Regions from separate parts of the Homo sapiens genome. Here regions 1, 2, 4, 5, 6 and 7 are each linked to region 3. Evidence: promoter capture Hi-C in 16 types of primary human blood cells and fetal thymus (Javierre and others, 2016). All regions are on one chromosome and are shown on one strand. The core of a region is centred on a gene start or on the middle of the fragment in contact, and the rest is flanking DNA. Distances in the headings are between cores, read along the strand shown.

The links. Contacts are between HindIII fragments. The CHiCAGO score rates a contact against its expected background, and 5 or more counts as called.
Region 1: a fragment that was not itself captured here is called in contact with the fragment with the promoter of ZNF703 in region 3 in 3 of 17 cell types (M1 macrophages, M2 macrophages and M0 macrophages); the score reaches 7.4 in M1 macrophages.
Region 2: a fragment that was not itself captured here is called in contact with the fragment with the promoter of ZNF703 in region 3 in 7 of 17 cell types (M0 macrophages, naive CD4 T cells, M2 macrophages and 4 more); the score reaches 13.4 in M0 macrophages.
Region 4: a fragment that was not itself captured here is called in contact with the fragment with the promoter of ZNF703 in region 3 in 3 of 17 cell types (M0 macrophages, M1 macrophages and M2 macrophages); the score reaches 8.7 in M0 macrophages.
Region 5: a fragment that was not itself captured here is called in contact with the fragment with the promoter of ZNF703 in region 3 in 9 of 17 cell types (naive CD4 T cells, M2 macrophages, M0 macrophages and 6 more); the score reaches 12.7 in naive CD4 T cells.
Region 6: a fragment that was not itself captured here is called in contact with the fragment with the promoter of ZNF703 in region 3 in 4 of 17 cell types (M0 macrophages, M2 macrophages, M1 macrophages and 1 more); the score reaches 9.3 in M0 macrophages.
Region 7: a contact is called between the fragment with the promoter of LSM1 here and the fragment with the promoter of ZNF703 in region 3, in 8 of 17 cell types (activated CD4 T cells, neutrophils, naive CD8 T cells and 5 more). The highest score is 11.0, in activated CD4 T cells.

The regions. Positions count from the first base shown.
Region 1 is chr8:37,272,130-37,275,312 of GRCh38, reverse strand. No RefSeq gene overlaps it. Among named protein-coding and RNA genes, the nearest start is that of LINC01605, 330 kb to the left of the region's middle. The HindIII fragment of the contact is 2,234 bases long and covers 654-2,887 here.
Region 2 is chr8:37,222,698-37,225,639 of GRCh38, reverse strand. No RefSeq gene overlaps it. Among named protein-coding and RNA genes, the nearest start is that of LINC01605, 380 kb to the left of the region's middle. The HindIII fragment of the contact is 3,506 bases long and covers 1-2,942 here.
Region 3 is chr8:37,694,526-37,697,662 of GRCh38, reverse strand. ZNF703 (zinc finger protein 703) reads right to left here and starts at 1,881. Exons shown (of 2, transcript NM_025069.3): 1 at 1,441-1,881; 2 at 1-518. The coding sequence starts at 1,683. It overlaps LOC124901932 (a long non-coding RNA gene), which reads right to left. Exons shown (of 2, transcript XR_007060887.1): 2 at 2,880-3,137. LOC124901933 (a long non-coding RNA gene) reads left to right here and starts at 1,982. Exons shown (of 2, transcript XR_007060888.1): 1 at 1,982-2,223; 2 at 2,680-2,918. RefSeq lists enhancers at 950-1,492, 1,493-2,036 and silencers at 1,771-1,870, 1,921-2,270, 3,058-3,137. The HindIII fragment of the contact is 16,475 bases long and covers 1-3,137 here.
Region 4 is chr8:37,240,174-37,243,266 of GRCh38, reverse strand. No RefSeq gene overlaps it. Among named protein-coding and RNA genes, the nearest start is that of LINC01605, 360 kb to the left of the region's middle. The HindIII fragment of the contact is 2,561 bases long and covers 254-2,814 here.
Region 5 is chr8:37,196,666-37,199,747 of GRCh38, reverse strand. No RefSeq gene overlaps it. Among named protein-coding and RNA genes, the nearest start is that of LINC01605, 400 kb to the left of the region's middle. The HindIII fragment of the contact is 2,998 bases long and covers 194-3,082 here.
Region 6 is chr8:37,299,063-37,302,157 of GRCh38, reverse strand. No RefSeq gene overlaps it. Among named protein-coding and RNA genes, the nearest start is that of LINC01605, 300 kb to the left of the region's middle. The HindIII fragment of the contact is 4,577 bases long and covers 1-3,095 here.
Region 7 is chr8:38,174,951-38,178,135 of GRCh38, reverse strand. It overlaps LSM1 (LSM1 homolog, mRNA degradation associated), which reads left to right and starts at 1,643. Exons shown (of 4, transcript NM_014462.3): 1 at 1,643-1,861. The coding sequence starts at 1,816. BAG4 (BAG cochaperone 4) reads right to left here and starts at 1,281. Exons shown (of 5, transcript NM_004874.4): 1 at 997-1,281. The coding sequence starts at 1,266. RefSeq lists enhancers at 339-678, 1,589-1,738, 960-1,817, 2,149-2,238, 1,818-2,675. The HindIII fragment of the contact is 945 bases long and covers 994-1,938 here.

The sequences.
Region 1 (3,183 bases), core at 521-3,020, 420 kb after region 3:
CAAACAGAACGTTCACTCTCGCTGCTGATGCGGAGCTCCCCCAAGCTTCAAAATATGCAAAACTGGCTCACCAGCATCTTTACACCTGGCCGAACCTCCTAATGGCATCTCCCTGCCTGGCTCTGCCCAGCAGCAGGCCTCGTGCACAGCTGGAATGCTCCCCCTCTCTTCTCTCCTTCCCTTGCCTCTTCTGTCAGTTTCTTCCTCCCAGGCTTTCATGTAGCAAGTCATTTTTCTGGGGCTGTCATTTACTGCTCTGCCTAACTGCTACCTCTGAGTGTGGCCGAACTAATGATGCAGCAATTAAGAGTGATTAGGGTTATTGATAATAAAGCGACTTCATAAACTTGATTAAATGCATTCATTAATGAACATGTTGTGGGTGCCTGTGTGGAGGGTGGGGTGGAATGAAAGGTGGGAAAAATAAGAAAAAGAATCTCACTCAGTAAATGCCCCAGTGTGGCTCTGAATATGATGAGGAGGACTGAGGTATTTGGCAGGAAGATCAGGAGTCCCCAGGGGCTTGGCGGTTGAGAAAATTGCAGCAAAATTGCTGTCCAGAGCACATCATTTATTTCTACACAGTAGAAGACAAAGGCAACAAGGTGCTAAAAGAGAATAGCCCCAAGAATTGCCTGCAATGCCCCCAAGCTTGAGATTGCTTTGGTCGCCACCTTTCCCGGGGGAGAGCTGCAGAGGTTGTTATTAATTAACACAAGCAAAGCTCTTTCCCTTCCATTCCCCTACCAACTCTGCTGACGAAATCAGGAGGGCTGCAGGTTCCTGCTCCTTTGATCCTCTCCTAGCTTGCTAAGGATAATAGCGCCACATTAATTACAACCTTCTCTGTCTCTTTTGGCAAGGCTATGCAGTGCTGGGGAGACAGAGCGTAGGGTCCTTGTCCTCCATGTCACACCTAGGAACTGGGAAGACCTTACAGGCTTAGATAAACCTAGTTAACTCTGACCTCAACTCAGAGCCATGACAATTCGGAAAGGAATTCTTCACTCAACACATGTAGATTCAAAGTGGTGCAAATAGACCTGAGTTTAAATAAATAGAAAGGGGGCATTTAAAAAAATCAAACAAGCTGTTTATTAGAGGAAGCGTCAACACACTTCCCAAGCACCCACTTACCGAACAGCGGCTCATTGCTTACAATACACTCCTACCCCAGAGCAGGCTCCCTCGGTACCTCCCAGACAAGCAAGCCATTAGCTTGGCTCTGGTTATCGGTACATACTTACAGTTATACTGAATTTCTCTTACATCAGTTAAGGATTAAAAAAGAAATGAGTTCACAGTGGCCCATCATTTGGCTGCTGTGAGTCTGAATTAGTGCAATTATGTGGCGTTTCTCAAACTGCATTCTGGTTGGACATGGCGGATTCCTTCAGCTGTGGAAGAATCTGGTCCCTGACTTCCATGCACTACTCTCTAGCCCTTCTGTGTCCTGAAGCCTCCGTGGGTGGAATTTGGCAAGTGGGAGGCAATAGATAGCACTCACTCATTCCTGCAGTACAGCCACAGATGAAATGAAATATGAGAGCTGTTTTAAAAGATTTACGCAACCATCAGGTAACTGATACTGAGCAGGAAGATTTAACAGGCACCTTAGGTTTGTGAACCCCATTGATTTTGCCTTCAACCCATTTCTGTCAGTTGTTGAGTTGGTCTGAGTCTGTCTGTCATCCAGTCAACAGCATTTACTGAGAAAGACCTCAGTGTAGGCTCCTGTACTTTGGGGTTACGAGAATCAACCATCACGAGGAATCCCTGGATCTCAGGATTGAATGGTGCTCAAATCTCATCTCAGGCTGAATCCCTGGAGCAGCATCCCTGTCCCATGGTACTCACTCACCAACTTTTAGGGAAGCCTATTTTATTTTGGCGTAACTCAGACAGTCAGGAAACTCTTCTTTAGGCGGAGATGGATTCATCAAGACCTGAAAATTATGGTGCGGGATTACTTTGTAGGCAAGGCCAAGTAATAATGAGGTCTTCTTGGAACTTTGGCAACTAAACTCCCTGGGATGGATATCAAAGAGAATCCTGTGTGATACTGGACTCCTCTGGTGGGAAAAAGATTCCCCTAAGTCTAGTGGTCCCAATTTGCTCACTCACTACCCATCTGCTGACCACTGTGCAAGGTGCCTTGGGGGGATGCTTATGGCCAGTTGGGGAGACAAGGCACATCCTCATGGAGAGTCATTGTAATGTTTAGCAATATGTCTTTAGCTGATCAACGAACTGTAGAGCATTTGTAGTGATAAAGAGGAATGTAATAGCCTTAAATCCTATATACACTTTGACCAAGAAATTCCATTTCTAAGAATTTAACCTTAGAAAATAATACTAGAAAATGATTTATGTACAGGATTTGTATTGCAGCATTGTTTGTAATAGCTAACAATTAGAAATAACCTTAAAATCCAACATATGGGAATAGTTAGATAATTTATGGTTAAATCCATTCAATGGAATACTATCGTTATTCCATTAATGATGATAATAAAAACCATTAAAAACCATTGTTTTCAAATAATGTTTTAAGGGTATGGGAAAATGCTCATATTGGGATCTTAAGTGGAAATAAACACACAAACAAAATACAAAGCTATATATCCAGTTTTGAATATCTATTATCTATCATTCTATCATCTATCTATCTATCTATCTATCTATCTATCTATCTATCTATCATTTACCTATCATCTGTCTATTTATCATCTATGCTTGACACTGGTGTTTATTACTTTCTTTATACTTGCCTATACTTTCCAAAATTTACAATGAATGTAAAAGTGTATTTTTTTATTACCAGAAAAACTCAATTTATGTATTGTTGCCTGTTTCTATGGTAGAAAGAGGAAGGCAAGACCAAGCTTGAAGGAGAAAATGTGGCATTTGTAGTTCAACAATCCAAGAAGGGAGTAAGACCAAACAGAACCTTCCAGGTGTCATTGCTTCCTGGGTCTCCCTTTAAGCCTGTAGAGGAAGGTGAGCAAGAGAAGAGACAAACATGGGGCAGTGACTTTTCAGAAAGACTCCATGAAGAGGTGATGGAGAAGCCAGGTGGGGAAGTGAGGAGGGACAAGTTCTCACTGGCATTTTGGGTGATGGCCTGGCAAGATGGAGGGCTAAAAGAAGGCCTGGTAGGAAGCCCACAACAGGTTGGGGATG
Region 2 (2,942 bases), core at 126-2,625, 470 kb after region 3:
CTGGGAGCAGGCGACGACCCTGCTTCCAATATGCTGCTCAATGATTTTAGATGATTGATCTTTCTAAAGTGCTTTTCCGTTTCTTGCCACACAGACGCGGATAGATTAAGCAATTATGGATTATTTCAACATCAGATGGCCCAAGACAATTAGTCAGAGAAGAAGCAAAGAAGTGGCCCTGCTGGCTTTTGGTGAAGGGGAATTTTCAGGCGGAGGTAAAGGTGGAAGCAAGGATGGGTTTGCTCATTGGGATGGACAGGCAGGGGAGAAGGCCTGGTTGATCTGCGGGGTTGGGAGGGAATATACATATTTATACAGTGGGAACAGTTAGGATTTTTTTTTAATGGGACTATGGCATAAAGAACCCTCACTATCTTTGAATTAAGCTAGCACTTTCCAGTAGCATTCTTTTTAAGGGAGATGAGATTGCTGATGCTTCTTGGAGGAAAAAAAAAGTTGCAAGAAGGAGAGAGAGAGACTGAGTAGTGCATGTAATAAAAGACAATAGATTAGATAGTCTCAGAATGGATCCGGGGCCCTAAATCACTCCCAGGCCTGGCTGCCAGGGCACAGACTTCCCGAGCGGGGCCTTCATGTTTTATGGTGGCGGCGGCCCTCCCGGGAGTGAGTTACAACCTTGCCGTCAGTGGGCGGCTATCTGTTATCCTACATGTAAACAGGTATTCAAATCCTGACTCCGGAACCTTCTCCTTGGCGTTTAATCATCCTGGTAATCTAACCCCCGTCCCCCGCCAAGGTCGCTGTTTTGGATTGCATGACTTTCAGACTCTTCTCTGGCACTGAAGGCAGGCGCAGCCGGGCTGACAGCCGCCCAACTCATCAACTGGGCTGACAGGCCCAAAAATTAACTTTGATATTTTGTGTGGAATAATTCAGTGGCAATTGGGCCAGATGATGTTCTGTAACCTAAATTCAATTTCCATCACAGGGAAGCATCAGAGAGCTAGTCACCTACTTGCCAAGAGCACCTAGCAATCTAAGGGGTATGCATGCATGTGCGTGCGTGCGTGTGTTTGCGTGCATGTGTGTGTGTGGTAGATTTGTAGATATATATACACACACACACTGTGCATCAGTCATTTCTATTAATATGTGATAGATTAATATGTACTTGTGGATGCAGTCATCGATTATTTGGGGGACGATTGTGCAGGGTCCTGTCCTTTCTTTCCTCCCTCACTGCCTGTGTTTAATTCTCTCCTTTTCTGTGGTGAGGGGCAGACGGGAGGGGAGGAGTGTTGGAGTGGGAGGGGAAGTGTAAAACACTCCATTATGCTTCTTAGCAGTTTTCCAGAATGCCTGGGGATGAAGGGAGGCATTGCTCTAATGCCAAATCTGAGACCGGCTGATACTTCAGTGTGATGTGGGTCACCTGTGTCTCTTGGGTAGGGTAGATCAGTGGGCAGCCTGCCACCCGCAGAGACGAGGAATTGAGAGTCAAATCCTGGCTGTGTCTCTTTCCAGATGTGTGGCCTCATTGCCTCACTTCATCTCTTGAAGCCTCAGTATCTCTGTTTGCAAAATGGAGAAAACCATTCTCTTGGTGCCTGGCACCCAGAGTAGGTGTTCAATAAATGGCAGCTATTGCTAGTCATGGCAGTGAGAACATGTTGAATCCTGATTTCCTCCACACCTTGGCCCTTTGGAAAGCCTCCCCTGTTGATATACCTTTTGAGAGGCAGGGACCACCTCATTGCCAGAGCCCAGAGCCTCTCCTAAAGGAGGAAGTGGTGGCCTTGGAGAGGAGCTTCTCCCAAATTAGTCACAAATCCTGGATAGTAAGACCAATGGGAGCTTGGAGATCAGCCACTCTCATGGGGGCATTTACCAGGACAAGATGCTGAGGCCCAGACAGTGCAAGTGAACTGCTCAATATCTCAGAGTGGCAGACACCAAGCATCGATCACATATCCTCTTGCTCGGATTCTCAGCAAGGAGCAACTGCCCCTACTCGCTTCCTATGAGGGCATTAGAGACTTGATGTTGGGGCCAGGCCACAGGACTGACTGTGGAATTGCTAACTCCTGAGATCCTTCCTCTTGGAGGAGGTCTAAGCCAGACACTTTATGCCAAATTCTGCTCATGCGAATGTGGTGCCCCCATGGGCTTTTGGGGCAATACCCCCATCACTGTTGGCATAGGCAGCAAGGGTAGAGAAGGTAATGTCTTGCTTTGGAGATGGTTGAGGTCGGGGAGAGAGGCGTGGTTCTAGGAGAAGAAAAGGAAAGAGAGAACAAATGTAAGAAACCATCTGTGGGTATTAGCGCACGCAGCGTCCCACACGACCTCATGTTGGCTCTTTTGTTAGTATCACTATCCTATTTGCATTAAAAAACCTAAGACTCTGAGGAGTGTATGTACTTGCTCAAAGCCACAGCTAGGAAATGGCAGAGGTGGGCTTTAAATGCAGTGCTTGACTTCAACTCAAGTGCTCTAGTCTGTGACATCTTGTGGCCACCAAAGGCAGACTCTGACCAGATTTATGTTCATGGTCCTGAGCCTGGGTCACCAATTAATGTCTTTTTCTGGTGAAGTCTGAGATCTAAATATTGTGAACCCCACAGGCCTTGGCAGTGCATGGAGGGGTGTTTGCCAAATGTGAGGGTCTTATTTGTTCCTTCAGGTCTCCCCAGGAAATGCTTTTGTTCATTTCCATACAGACATGGCTCCCTTCACTGGGGACCGTGTATTTTTTCTTTGACTAGAAACACCATGTGTGTCATGTTTTCTTTGAAAAGGAAAGCCCTGGGATCATCTGCATCAGGTTATAAAATGATCCCAAGGTCCATTTCTGGCTCTAGGCAAGTTGAGCATACATCACCTCGTTTAATTCAGCAATATCATCAATGTCAGTGCGTATCCACCGGCTGTTGGCTATTGGTCATCCGGACCTGACACAAACTCAATAAATACTCCATAAC
Region 3 (3,137 bases), core at 632-3,131:
TCCGGGCTGGGCTTGGGCTCCTGGTCTTTCTTGTCCAGCTCCCCGCCGCCAACCCCGCCGCCGTTCTTGCAGTCAGAGTGGTGCGGGGAGCCGCCGCGGGAGCCGCCGGGCGACGACGAGGACGAGGATGCGGAGACCGGCGCTCCATGCGGGGGAAAGGGCGGGCAGGCGGCGCTGGGGACCCTGAAGCCCGCCTTGTCTCCCGGGGACGAGGAGGACGAGGAGGAGGTGGAAGACACCGAGGAGGAGCCGCTGTCTTTGCGGGAGTCGCCGCCGCCGGAGCCCTTGGAGTAGGGCTTGAAGCTGGACTTGTCCTCGGCCGGTGAGTCCCCCAGCTGCTTCAGGGCCGCGGCTGCGGAGGCGGCGCCCGGGGCTGAGCGGCCGGGGTCCTTCTCCGCTCCCAGCCCGTTGGCCGCCGCCGCCACCGAGTTGAGTTTGGAGGAGGGCGGCGGGTCCGGCTTGCCGATCTGCGAGCAGGTCTGAGCCAGCAGCGCCAAGGGGCTCTTCTTGGCGTCCAGCTGTGGGAGACAGAAGCAGGGGGAGGGAGAAGGAGTGAGACTCAGAGGCCTGCGGGGCGAGCGGGGGCGCCCGGGGAGCTGGGCGGCGGCGCCACGGGGCGGGGCGGGCCTGGGGAGAGGGTCTGCGAGCGAGGGCCGGGCCGGGCGCGGCAGCTGGCGGAACTGCGCCCACACTGCCGCTGGGTCCCGGGGTGCGCCGCAGGCCCTGCGGAAGGAGTTCACCCAGGACCCCTGCGGGAGAAGGTGACGTCTCTGGAGTCGGGGCTGTGACTCGCCACTTCCCTCTAATGTCCCCCTCCTCCAGGCCCAGGAAAAAACTTATTCCTTTAGTTTGGGGGAACTTCGCTTGGGACGGGTTTCTGGCGATGGCGCCGCGGGGTAGGAGAGGGGAGCGCGGATTCTAAAGGAGGGGCTGCAGTTGGCGCTCTCTCCGTAGCCCCTCCCTCCCGGGGAGGGCACCCAGGGAAGAGGCAGGAAGAAAGATCCGGGATCGGGAGCGCCAGGGCGCCGTGCGCCCTCACCGGATGGGACAGAGGCGAAGTGGGACCCGGGCAGCCAGGGCTTCAAAGAAAACAGCCCGGCGTGGGGGGCGGGGAAGACCCAGCAGAGACCAACTCCTGGCTGGAAACTGGGGATCAGAGGAAAAGTAAAGGACCCAGAGGGGACTCCAGGAGCAAATCCAATCCGAGAGAAAACACGGAGCTCCGAAGGGCGAGCGTGGAAGGAGACCCTTCCACGGGGAAGCCTGGGGAAGCCCTGGTGGGCTCTGATCCCTCGGTTTTCTTCCCCTCCTCACTCAGCCCGCCAGCGTGACCAGACTTGGGTGTCGCACCGAGCCCCGGGGCGCTGGGAGCTGGGTCAGGGTCCCGGTCGCGGTGGGAGGAATGGGGCCGGCGCCCGGGGGCAGCGGCCGGGGACTGACCTCAATGGGGCTGACGGGAGTGGAGGACAGCGGCTGCAGGTACTCCGGGTGCAGGAGGTGACCGGTGTGAGCGCTCAGCATCTTCAGGACCCTGATCGGGAGCCGGTTCGCCTGGCGCAGGGGGTCCGCCGGTGGCAAGAGGGACACCGCTGCCGGCACCGCCGGCCTCTTCCCGCCGCCGCCGCTGCCGCTGCCGCTGCTTTCGGGTGTCCTTGGGTTAGATCCAGCGGGCGAATCGCTCATTTGGAGGAGGCAGCGCCGCTGGGGGGGCGGGGAGGGCGGGGGAGCACCGGGGAGGCGAGCTCCCGGGGCGGGTGGGCTCGCTCCGCAGCGTCGATCGCGGTGCAGCGGGAGCTGCGCCTCCTCGCCGCCTCCCCTCCTCCACCGACGCCTCCGCCGCCGCCGCCACCGCCGCTGGCCCCGGCTAGCAACACAAAAACCTTCGCCTTCCTCGAGCCGCACGTCAAATAGCCGCGATCGGCAGCCACACTTCAAAGGGATCGCCGCGCCCGCCCAATCGCAGCTCTCGCCGGGACCCCGGGGCGGGGAGAGCGGCGGGCTGAGGCCGGCTCCATCGGTGGGCGGGGAGAGCCTTAAAGGGGCCGCGCCGCGCGCCGCCGCTGCCTCGGTCTCGGCCGCTCCCGGGATTCCTCCCCTCCCCCCGACTGGGCCTTCCTCGCCCTGGGGTCCCCCGCCTGGGACGGGACTTCTCCGGGACCCTGAGCTCTGCGCCCCGTCCTCCTTTCCGGCCGCTCTCTCTCCTCTCTCCCTTCTCACCACTGGGTGGGTGGGGGGTGATGCTGGCGGGGGCTGTAACCCCGCCCGCCGTGTGTGTCCGAGGTGGGGTGGGGTGGGGTGGGGTGGGGTGGGAGGGATCGCACGGCGCGGGCTCTGGGACGCTGGAGTTCAAGCCTCTCCCAGAGGCCGCCTGGGGGCAGGCCTCGCCTCGGGAGCCCGGGTCCTTCTCCAGAGCTGCTCCGGCTCTCCTCGGCCCCGCTCTCCTTCCCCTACTTGGCCTCCCCTTGGTGTGTTCACTTGGAAGCGCCCGAGCCTCGGAGGCACCCACTGTTCTCGGGACGCGGCGTAGGCAGCTCCAACTACTTTGAGCCCGTCTTGTCTGAAGCCTGCAAGTTTGTCTCCCTTCTGGAGTGACATGGTCGGCGACCAAGCGCGGGACCCCAGGCTGTGCGCGCTGTGCCTGCGCCCTGCGTTAGAGGCTCGGTGTCTGGTGTGTTACAGGCTTCTTACCGTGTCCTGCTGAGGGGCGTGAAGTTCCTCACTGTACCGCGCCCAGCTGCTACGAGGAGAGACCGAGATCACGGGCGAGGCGGGTGTCCCTGGAGGGGGATCTCTCTCTAAGCGCTGCTCGGCAACACAACCCCTCCGCCCCCCCATCCTTCTCACTCCGGGGGAAAAAGCACTTGCTTTCCCCAGGCAAATTTCGGGATAAAAACTTTTAATTAAAAATAACAATACCCTTCCCGACTCCCTGCGCCTTTCTGATACAGTGTGCATTGCTAGCTTCGCCCTGGGCAGAGATTTTACGTAGTCATAGTCCTGACATCCAAGTTCCGGATCCGCCGCTTTTCCGGAGGCGAAGTTGGTCCTTTGGGTGCCGAACTCTGGGGAGCCCACTTCTCCGTGCGCTCGGCGGCCAGTGGAGGCGCGCTGGTGTCACTGCCTGGCTCCCAGCACCA
Region 4 (3,093 bases), core at 285-2,784, 450 kb after region 3:
AATGGAAAACTGTCCCCACAGCCTCAACGAACCTTGGATATCTAATATTTATGGCCAATTGATGTCATTAGAAAGTAAATAAGCCCTCTTATGCTGCATTACATAAGATTAACTGCAAGCAATGGAGTTTAAATAGCAGAGATAAGTGCAGATGGAAATAAACCTGTTTAAAGCTAGAAATATTTGATGGGCCTCCTTGCTGCTTTTAAGATAATTGATCTGTATATCTGTATTGAATCTCACCATAAAAGCTTTGAAGAGACTTGTGGAAGAGCCTGTTCAGACCCAAATCACATTTCTCTGGGGCCACCCAACCAGGGTTAGAGTCTCTCCAAAGAGAAACTCTAGAGCTGGGAAACTGAAAAAAACTGAGGAGAAACAGGAGTCTTGTAGCTCTAGGCCCACCCCTCCACTGCCCCCATGCCAATTTCCTGGATAACAGCTAGAACTAAATGACCAGCCTCTTAGGGGGCTGAAACTATGACAAGCAGGATCATGAAAGGAACCTTGGTTCTTTAGTTTGTGGGAGAAAAGAGTGAGGTGGCTGGGAGGCTCTCAGTTGCTTTCTTTGAGGATTTCCAGCAATTTTAGGTAAAATAGTGCATCTCAATTTTCAATTATTCATGGCAAAGGAACGGTTAAAAAAAAAAACTTCTCATCCTTTGATACACGGTTTTACTGTTTATAACTAGCATGGAGCTCACATCACAATCCGCTTATCACGTAAGTTTGACATCTGATTGTGTCTATATTGTGTTCCACAAGGCATGTCCACTGGTCACGTGCTTGGTGACCAATGTCCAGTTGCTATAACATTTTGGAAACTGTTCCTTTCATCTTTGTGCTCACGGAGGCCAGATAGCAAACAGTGTATGAACTCACATCTATCCATGCACCACTGTTTGTTAGTGCTGATGTAGAAGGTTTGTTCTCTTTGTCTTCAGATGGTAGGGAGAGAATTAGGAGCAATCGATGGAGTAGAAGGAGACCTATGTTATCCTAAAAGGACAATATTTCCTAATAGTCATAGCAGACACAAACCTCAATCCACAAACCCAGATGGACAAGAAATACAATTTTTTTTTTTGAGATGGAGTCTTGCTCTGTTGCCCAGGCTGGAGTGCAGTAGCATGATCTCTGCTCACTGCAAGCTCCACCTCCCGGGTTCATGCCATTCTCCTGCCTCAGCCTCCTAAGTAGCTGGGACTACAGGTGCCTGCCACTATACCTGGCTAATTTTTTTTAAGAAATACAATTTTTAAAATTTTCTATAGCAAAACTTAATTTTTAAATGAAAAATTATGATTATATATATATATATGAATTGCTAATAGTCACAAGTGTCACTTTAAAAAAATTTTTTATTTCTGTAGGTTATTGGGGTACAGGTGGTATTTGGTAACATGAGTAAGTCCTTTAGTGGGGATTTGTGAGATTTTGATGCACCCATCACCTGAGCAGTATACACTGTGCCCTATTTGTAGTCTTTTATCCCTCATCCCCTTCCCACCCTTTCCCCCGAGTCCCCAAAGTCCACTGTGTCATTCTTATGCCTTTGCACCCTCATAGCTTAGCTCCCACTTATGAGTGTAAACATATGATGTTTGGTTTTCCACTCCTGAGTTACTTCACTTAGAACAATAGTCTCCAATCTCATCCAGGTCACTGCAAATGCCATTAGTTCATTCCTTTTTATGACTGAGTAATATTCCATTGTATATGTATACCACTGTTTCTTTATCCACTGGATGATTGATGGGCATTTGGGTTGGTTCCATGTTTTTGCAGTTGTGAATTGTGCTGCTATAAACATGTGTGTGCAAGTATCTTTTTCATATAATGATTTCTTTTCCTCTGGGTGGATACCCAGTAGTGGGATTGCTGAATCAAATGATACTTCTACTTTTATTTCTTTAGGGAATCTCTGCATTGAGCAAAACTTAATTCTATGATGATATCACAGTGCTTGGGCTAAAAACACCCAAATCGCAGTTTGAAGCCTAACACATTCACCTTCCCCCAGGTAGTGTATAAGTTGCAGGGATTTTAACAGAGAGCAGAGGCTGGAAGGGGTGGGGGCCTCTGTCTGGATTGCCATCATCCCTCTGTGTTGGCATCCATTAGGGGTGTCCTCATTCCCATCGGCCTTCGGTCTTCAGTCCAAGAAGTTCTCTGCAAGGTCTTCTTTGTTCCCAGCTTGTCCCGTTTGCTGGCTGTCTGTGCCACATTCATGCCACTTGTGGCTGTGTGGAGAACACGTGAGGTTCTCTGTGAGGTTGTCCAGGCCCGTCTGCCTGTGCCCTCCCCTCCTCCCTTCCCTCCTGCTTCCAGCACAGGGTTCTGTGTTGACAGAAGTTGGGGGGATTTTGAGGGGAGTCTTGCTGGGCCCTTTGGCTCTATCACAGAGTTGGAAGGTATTGGAGTGGGGCGGGGAAAGGCATCTTTCTGCCTTTGCTCTAATCTGGAAAGTCTGTCATCCCAGCCAGAGTTGGCCCAGGTGACAGTCTCTTCTTGGGGACTTCCCAGCACCTACATTTCCTTCCTTTTCTCTTGGACCCATGGTTTCCTTCCTCTCAGTTTAAGAATATAGAATCATTTATTTACGTGTTTTTTTTTTTTTGATGGGGGGAAACCTGGCTTAGACTAATCTCAGAGTCTTTTCAATCTTTGCCTCATTGTTTAGACCTTGGCTTTTGAAACTTCAGCCATAAATTTGACTCTTTGATTCTGCTGTTCCTTCCCTGAAGCGAAGGAACTTAAAAAAAGCCTTGGCTGCTGTCTACCAGAGGTAAGGGTGGCAAGGTAACAGAAGCTTCTGGGACTGTAAGCCACATGAGGTAAAATATGAAGATGTTATTACACACCACACTCAAAAGTTAAGACCAGATAGACTGTGCTGCCTGGGTAGCAAATGCCCCATCCCTGAAGACCTCTGAGCAGTGCCTGGACAATCTTTGTTGATGAGGAGATTTAGAGACCAGATGACATAACCTATCTATAGGTTCTATAATTCTGTGACTTTGGGGTGGGAAAAGCAGATACCACATGGGAGAATCCAAGGGAAGAAATCACAAGAAAGTCCACCTGACTGCA
Region 5 (3,082 bases), core at 443-2,942, 500 kb after region 3:
AAACTATTAGTTTTGTATAATAAATTTGACATAATTTTCTTATTATTTAGCTCTAGTTATTTTATTCATTATATCAATTTTTAACTCAATAATTATTTAGTAATATACTACTTCATTTCCAAGCATTTGAAAGTTTTAAGAAAGATTGCTTGGTCATTGATATCAAATTTTACTGCATGATGGTTTAAAAGCTTAGTTGATATAAGACTGATTTTATAAAATTGATGAGGTTTCTTTTATGACCCAATATACAATTTAGATTTACAAACGTTTTGGGTGCACTTGCAGAGTTCTGTAAGTGCTGAAACACTGTTTTGTTGTTCAGATCTTTTACATTTCCCTTCATTTATTTTGTCTCCTTGATCTATTTGTTTCTGGGAAGGGTCTGTTGAAATCTTCAGTTGGTATTTTTGATTTACCTTTTTCTCTCTCTAATTTATGTCAGTTGTTGCTTAGGTCAATATTTTGAGACTGTATTGTTAGGAGTGTTAATGTTCAAAATGGTTAGCAAATGATATTTTACTTAAGCCCTTAGGATTTTCTGTTTCAATATTAAATTCAACTTCTTCTGGTATTAACAGTGTTAACCCACTTTTTTGGGGGGGTTTATATTTTTGGAGTTTTTTTTTCAATTTTTACATTTTTAACCTTTCCATTCTTTTGGTTCTAAGTATATTTCTTGTAGACATTATGTTGCTAGATCTCTTTTAAAACCCAGTCTGAAACTTAATATTTAGACTGGTGAGTTTAACCCATTTACACTTATAGTAGTGCCTATTATATTAGGATTTATCACATCTTAGTTCATATTTCCCACTTGCTCTGCTGAACACTCCCACCTCTTCTGCTTTCAATTCAATGTCTTTCATCTTTCTTTAATTTTAGAAAATGTATCTTTATTATTTTTAATTTTTTATTATAAAATATAGTATACATAGGTATGAGTTTATGAAAAACATGCACGCACAGTTTGAATACAATTTTTAAAAAAATCACCCAGAGACCCACTTCCAGGATCGCAAAATAGAATGTCACCAACTACTCAGAAGCACCCTGGGTGCATTGCCCTGTCACATCCCACTCGCTCTTCTCCTGCAAATGAGCATTGTCTTGAATTTTGTTTTTTAGTTTTAGTTTTTTACCATCTAATAGGTATTCCTCAACAATATATTATTTAGTTTTGTTTGATTTTGACCTTGATATGAATGGAATAGTCTTTTCTTTAAAATATCTGTGTATTTAGAGCACTATGTGTTTGAGGTCTATCCATGTCAATAATTAAATCTATAATTCATTTATTTTCATTGCTGTATATGCGAGTGTATGATTATACCACAATTTATTTATTCATTGCACTGTCTATTGATATTTAGTTCCTGGATTTTTCCTGTGAAGGATAGTGCTGCCATAAGCATTCTTTTACATATCTTTTGGCGCATATGTTTGAGAATTTTTCTAAGGTAAATGCCTAGTGGTGGAATTGCTAGAATGTAGATTATGTGCGTATTTAACTTTAGTTTGGCATGTTTAATGCCAAAGTATTTCCACCGGGTTGAACCAGGTTATATCTCACCAGCAGTTTCTATTGCTTTGAGTTTCTATTGCTTTGCATTGTCGGTAAGGCTTGACATGTTGAGAACACTAAATTTGGTTCACATCTTTATTATTGCTTCAAAAATGTATTTTCTAGCTGGGCGCGGTGGCTCATGCCTATAATCCCAGCACTTTGGAGGCCAAGGCAGGCAGATCACAAGGTCAGGAGTTCAAGACCAGCCTGGCCAACATGGTGAAATCCCATCTCTACTAAAAATACAAAATTACCTGGATGTGGTTGCACACACCTGTAGTCCCAGCTACTTGGGAGGCTGAGGCAGGAGAATCGCTTGTACCCGGGACGTGGAGGTTGCAGTGAGCCAAGATCATGCCATTGCACTCCAGCCTGGGTGACAGAGCAAAACTCCGTCTCAAAAAAAAAAAAGAAAAAAAAGAGAGAATTCAAAAATTTATTTATTTATTTTCTTCCTGTGTTATCCCCTCATTCTTATTTACTGTTATTGACCCTTCTTTTAGACAAGTTTCTTAACTTTAAAAAATTGTTTTCCATCTCCTGCTCCTTTCAGGAAAAGCTCTTCTGTTACATTTTACAACTCCTTAATTCTTTTTCTTTTTTTTTTTTTTGCTCTATCCATCATGTAAATTGCTGAATATTTGATTCTTTATTTCCATTATCATCTATAATATTTCCACTTGGTTCTTTCTTTATGCTTATATTATCCCTTATATCTTTATTTGGTAAGCCTATTTAAATTATTGATCTGCTTAAGCTAATCATTTGGCTTTAGATGGTCGACATTTTTTATTTAGTTGCCTTTCTTTTGAGTGGTTGTACTCCTTGAGTGGTTGTACTCCTTGAGTGGTTATTCTGGCATGTAGGCTCAAGTTCCTTTGGGGATATTTCCCTTTGGGGAAGAACTGATGTCATGTAGACTGTGTTTTACTCACTGGGTTTAAAGAGATGGTAGATGATGAACCCCAGGTGGTAAAGACAGTTAAACCCTACAGAATTATTGCTGGTCACTCAAAATTGCCCCCACTCTTATTAGGTACTTTCTCTGACCAGGGTTTTGCTTTAAATTCTCAGAACAAGGAATTCCTGGGCGGAGAGTAAATACCCAAAATAGTTGCTTGGTCAACCCCTATTTTCCTCACTCTTCACCCCAACAACACTTTCGCACTTTCCTGATATTCTCCTGCTGATGGAGGGTGAGACCCAGCCAACTTAGCTTAACAAGCCTTCCAAGTAATTCCCATGCATGTGAAGTAATGAGAACCACTGGGTTTTTCATTTCTCAGGTTGATATTGAAGGGAGGAACCAACAGCCTGAACTGGTTTGCTATATGGTCAAGATCTGAGGACTGATTTCAACATCCTCATTTTTGAAGAGTTCCCTGATCCTGTTTCATGAAGGCACATCTTCTTTTATCCTTTTGAAATGATTAACCAGAGTTTAAATTTTCTTTTCAAATTTTCTCCTCTTGTCTGCATTGCCTTCATTTATAACAAGTTTCTTGTTTCTGTTTT
Region 6 (3,095 bases), core at 337-2,836, 400 kb after region 3:
ATGACATGAGCCTGGTCACCCCTGTCCTGTAACTGCCTCACAGAGGTGCTCTAAGGATAAATAAGTCCATTATCTGCAGAGTGCCGAGAGCTCCTTGGAGGAAGGCTTTACATAAATGCACAGTTATTCTTGTGCTTATATTAAGTCGGTTCTTAACCTTTAGAGTAGGTTCATAAGATGCTGTGGAGGAGTGGGAAATAAATGAAAGATCTAGCTCCCCTTTCAGTCTCGGACTGAGAAAGCATGAATATTCACCTGTATGCCTTTTCAGACACATGCACACACCCCTATGTGCCCCCACCCCTGATGGAGCGCACTTGTGAAAGTTAAAGATTTAGCATGAACAGGGATAGCATTCAGCTTCCCTCAGATTTCTGTATCCCTAGTAGACTCTTCCTGGTTTCTAGCGTTGTCTGTCCTAAGTGACGCGGGGAAGCTGGAAAGCTACAGTGGCACCCTTCTGTATTCCAGATCCATGTGTGCCTCCCACTGGTATCCCAAAATCTTCAGGTTGATAACCGCGCTTGTAATGAGTTTACGTGTGTTCGTTCCCTGAAAGCTCCTTTCTCTCCTTGGAATACCTTTCTCATTGAATGGCATGAACATCTGCCCAGTGGTCCAGTTAGAAATCTGAGAAGCCTTCTTGCCTCCATCATTTCCTGTATCTTCCTCAAGTCCTGGTGGATTCTGTGCCCTGTATGTTTATCAGCTCCAAACCTTCCCCACCATGTCTATCCTCAGGCCCTCAGCATTCCTCCCCTGGACCATGGCCGTGTGCCCTTCCTTGGCTGGGGGTAGTGGTTGCAAGCAACAGAAACTCAGTATTGCTGTCGCCAAATATATTTTGTGCTTAAAATAGTAGGGGGAAACCAGAAAGTCAGGACTAGAAAATAGCTAGGAGTTAAGAGACCTCTAAATATTACACAGTTGGATCCTCAGTCAAGGTCCCCATTCCAGTGATCTGTTTCTGTGGAACAAAGCACCCCGCACTCAATTACTTAAAATGACAATGTTTATTTTGCTCATGAATAGGCAATTTGGGCATGGCTTACAGGGAGCAGCTTGTCTTTGCTCTACGTGGAGTTAGCTGGGGTGGCTGGAAGGGTGGGGCCTGAAGTCTCCCAAAGGCTCCCTCCTTCACAAGTCTGATGGTCAATGCTGGCTGTCAGCTGGAATCTTAGCTGGGATTGTTGGCCGGGACACCTACCTACACATGGCTGCTCTGTGTGGTCTGGGCTTCCCTGCAACGTGGTGGCTAGGTTCCCAGGGCAAGCCTCTCAAGAGAGAATGAGCCAGATGGAAGCCATCTCACTTTTCATGATGTAGTCTCTGAAGTCTTGCAGTGTTACTTCCATTGCTTTGATTCCAGAGGAGAAATAAACTCTACCTCTTGTTGGAGAGTAGCAAGACTGTGGAACAGCATGTGGAATTGGAAATATTGCTGTGGTCATTTTTGGAAAATACAATCTGCCACAGCCTGTGAAAAGTGTGCTGTTTAGTTACCCACTCAAAAGTCAACATTTCTAGAGGGGAGTGTTGGATTGACTGTGCCTGTCGTCCACTCCTGGCTACTCTGGCAGGTGAGGCAGAGAATCTTGCCCCTTCTATGATAGAAAGCAGCAGTGGTCTCCCTTCAGGACCACACAAAATAAGGAGTTTCCACTGAAAGGGAGATCAGGGTGCTAATAGGAAGATGGAAATGGGGATGTGGAGGACAGTATTGTGTGGTATGCTGCCCCCAAATGACAATGATCTTCTGCAGCCTGACTCCCCAGCTCTGTTTAGGTCTTCATTACTTTGATGCCATTATGATCTAAAATTCTATTGTGATCATGTGACCGCCAAGCCTAAGATCCTCTGATGTTTCCCAACAATTTTTGAATCAGTCTCAGTCTCCTCAGCCTGGCATAGCAGAGAGCTATGAACCTGGCCCTTCCCTACGTTTGCAGGTGTCTTCTGGCCACAGCCTAGAGCCCACAGCCCATGCACAGCCTCTTTACTGCCATGTTGCTTTCTGGCTCTTTTTCATGTTTTCCATAGTCTTCTTTGTCTGAAATTTTGTATTTGCAAATCTGCAGATCCTTCTGCATCAAAAGTCCTTCCTCTGCATCCTTGTGTACCAGGCTAGTTTTAATTTATATATATACACATATATATACATACATACACATATACATACATATATACATATATACATTCACACACACACCTGTGTCAAGGGCTGTCACCACCAAGAAGCCCTCTCTGGAGTCATGTCCCCCATCCAAGGTCAAGCTGTGGTTCTTTTCTGTGTTTTCATAGCTCTATTGCAGTTCTGATCTTTGCCTTTCTTGCCAGTTTTTTAAGAGGGGCAAAGACTCTGTCTTTACTGTCTTTAGATCCCTCAGAGATTAGAATGCCACTGGCCACATAGTGGTTGCTCAGTAAATGCCAACCAAATGGTAACGAACAATGTGAGGTGGTCCAGATCCCATTTTCTTTTCTTTTCTTTGAGAGAGAGTCTTACTCTGTCACCCAGGTTGGAGAGCAGTGGCACAATCTTGGCTCACTGCAACCTCTGCCTGCCTCCTGGGCTCAAGTGGTTCTTGTGCCTCAGCCTCCCAAGTAGCTGGAATTACAGGCATGCACCATCACACCAGGATACTTTTGGTATTCTTATTAGAGATGGGATTTCACCATGGTGGCCAGACTGTTCTTGAACTCCTGGCCCCTAGTGATCTGCCCTCCTTGGCCTCCCAAAGTGCTGGGATTACAGGTTTGAGCCACTATGCTTGGCCCCAGGCCCCATTTTTTAATATGACTGTCTGAGGCTGGGTGTCATGGTGGGACATAGCTTTTGCAGTTAAATGTTGGAAAGCCAGAACTGTTCACCACCAGTGACACTATTGACTGTGCAGAATAGGGCTGGAGGGGAAATCAGCTTGACTCAAGTTTCTGGGCCGCATGAAAAGTTGATGCTAGGCATTGGTGAGTTAGTTATAATTTGGGCCTGGGTGGGGTACCCCTGTGTGGGATATATACACATGCAACATAACGTGTGACCAAAACTGCTCTTTGGTTCAACATTATCCCAAGATAAATGAACACTGGAAAAT
Region 7 (3,185 bases), core at 394-2,893, 480 kb before region 3:
TTGGCGATTATGAATAATGATGCTATGAACATGGGCGGACAAGCTTTATGTGAACATACGTTATCAGTTTTCTTGGGTATATAGCCAGGAGTGGGCTTGCTGGGTCATAGACTAATTCTAATGCTTAATGTTTTGAGGAACTACCAAACTATTTTCCACCATTTTACATCCCCACCAGCAATGTACGAGAATTTCACTATTACATTTTCAACAAATGAGGATAATTCTTGAACGAACAGAGAGGTATGCTGCCACCGCAGAACGACAACCCACTACCCAGAAGACTGTATTAACAAAGCAGAAGTATATGTCCGGCAGGAAAACGGAGAATAAAATGTTGCAGGTCCAAGTGTATTAGGCAAGTGAGTTAACCTCGCAGAGCCCCGGTTCCTTATTCGAAAACAAAAAAAAGGGCCGCTGTAATGCCATTTTACCTTGCAGTCGCCGTGAAAATTAAATCAGTCAATCCGCGTAAAGGTACTTTACAACACTGATTATTCATGATTCGATCTCAGGCAAGGCATTAGGGGCAAACAGCTAAATGCCCAGATCCCTCCTCCTCGCAAAGGTTCCTTCCCCTCGGGAGGGTCCCTGAGCGGCATCGGGGGCTGCAGCCACTTCCCTTCCCCGGGAGAGCCGGCCTGCCAGCCACGCAGGATAAATTGCTAGAGCTGGAGCAGTAGATCCGTGCCACCCCTACCCAGCACCGCTCCCAGGAGAGAGATCTGCAGCCTGCTGCTAAGCTTAGTAAGTCCGCGCAGGATCTTTCTTTTTTAAATGGTAATAAACATATTTTTTGGGGTCGAAGCAGAAAAGGAGGGGCAAAGGGAACACAAGCATGTCCCCCCAACCTCTGATCTTAGTCTCGGTCTCTCCAACACCCCCCGCAACACACCCTCCTCCACATAAGGAAAACAAGTATGAAACCCGATCCTTTACGAACCCCAGCCCCAAGGGCCCTCACCTCCCCGCAAGGACAGAGGGTGCAAAGCTTACCTGGTGGCTTCCTCCGGCTCGACCAGGCTCTGGCCAGGCGCCTCCCGAGGGATAGTAGCCATCGCCTCCTCCGCCTTCTCCCAGCCAGGTGGTCTCCGCCGGGCCGCCCCCGCGCACCCGCCAGGAAATGGGAGGCTGGGGAGGTTCAGGGCGAAGAGGATATAAGGGTGGAGGTGGGTGTACCGGCACATCTCCACCCCCAGGCCCGTAGTAGCGGCCGTAGGACGGACCGTCACTGGGGCCGTAGCCCGAGCGCCTCAGGGCCGACATGGGATCCGCTGCCCTGAAGCGCTTCCCGCCCCGCTCCCCACGGCCGACCCATCGCGCAGGCGCCCGCGGGCGATTGCGAATGGAGAGCAGCGAAGGGGGTCGGACGACGCCAGCCAATCCCAGGCCCGGGCCCGCCCCTTCTGCTGCCGAACCCCGAAAGCTGAGGGACGGAGGTCAGTGACTCTGGGGTCTCGGGAACCCGGAGACGAAGGAAGACACCGTGTTCCTTAAGAGGGAGTATACGTTTCCTCGCCATTTATCCAATGGAGTTTCCTCTTACCTACTTAACAGGAACAGGGAAAGGGTGTCCCCCAACGGTACGGCTGCCCCGCCTCTTCCTGGGGGCCCACACGTGTTACAGGAAGTGGGTAAGGGTAATATGGAGGAGCTTCCGGCAGCCCCCGGCGGCTGAAAGCCGGGGCAGAAGTGCTGGTCTCGGTCGGGATTCCGGGCTTGGTCCCACCGAGGCGGCGACTGCGGTAGGAGGGAAGAGGTTTTGGACGCGCTGGCCTCCCGCCGCTGTGCATTGCAGCATTATTTCAGTTCAAAATGAACTATATGCCTGGCACCGCCAGCCTCATCGAGGACATTGACAGTGAGTAGTTTATCTCCTCCCGGTGGAGCCCGGGGTTAGACCCTTCCTCCCGGGCGGGCGCCTCTTCCGAAGAAGCTTGTAGAATGAGTCCCGGGCGGGGCCGGTGTGTTCTGAGCTCAATCCGGGCGTTCCGCGTCGATGTCCTCCACAGCTGCGGTACACACCGCTTGCCCACCCAGTAGCCTGCTGCTACTTCTGCCCCTCGCAGCCTCCGCCAGCCCTCTAGCTGGTGAGCCCCAAGCGATGGAACTCATTCTTGCTTCCGTGGATCGCGGCAGCAGAGGCCCGAACACGAAAGAAGCCCGGGGAGGGGGGGGGCTTCTCCCCCGTCCACTCCTGCCTGCAGTATTTCGAAGTATCAGCGTGTTACCGGTGGATGGATCGGAATACCTAGAGAGAGGATTCATTAAAAAGCGAAAATATTAAGACAGCGGCAGTTGGACTTAATTGGCAGTAAATGTAGGCGCTCTACGGTGTGGCCATTTGCTAGCTTATTTTACTGTGAGGGTCATTAGCACCTTCAGGTTATTGTAGTAGAGACCACTGTTAGACATGGTATTGACTTTTCTGGAAAGACCAAATCACTTGCAACCTTTTTTTTTTTTTTAAGACAATTTACTTTTGCTTTTACTAAGAAGACCTCCCTTATTCCTGGTTTTTGTCCGGAAGAGGAGCTCAGTCCTATACAAAAGCGAAAAGAACCGTCTGCAGTTGTTCTGGCTTTCCTTTTTTCTAAATTCCGTCTGTGCATTATTCCTCAAGCAACATTTTTTATTGTTTTAATCATGTGATCTTTCTCATTAACTTGTTTCAAGATGATTTACACATAGTTTTAAATAAGTTGCAATCGTCTCAGTTACTCTGTGAATACGCAATTTAGAATCTATGGTTAAAATTTCATTTTACGGGCCTGGCGCGGTGGCTCACGCCTGTAATCCCAGCACTTTGGGGGGCCGAGGCGGGCAGATCGCCTGAGGTCGGGAGTTCAAGACCAGCCTAGCCAACATGGTGAAACCCCGTTCCTACAATTAGCTGGGCACTATGGCGGTGCCTGTAATCCCAGCTACTCGGGAGGCTGAGGCGGGAGAATCGCTTGAACCCGGGAGGAGAAGGTTGCAGTGAGCCGAGATCGCACCATTGCACTCCAGCCTGAGCGACAGAGCAAGACTCCGTCTCAAAAAAAAAAAAAAAATCATTTTATGGTTGACAGATCTTTTTTCTTTTCTTTTCTTTTTTTTTTTTTTTTTTTGAGACAGAGTCTTGCTCTGTCGCCCAGGCTGTAGTGTGCAGTGGCGCGATCTCGACTCACTGGAACCTCCACCTC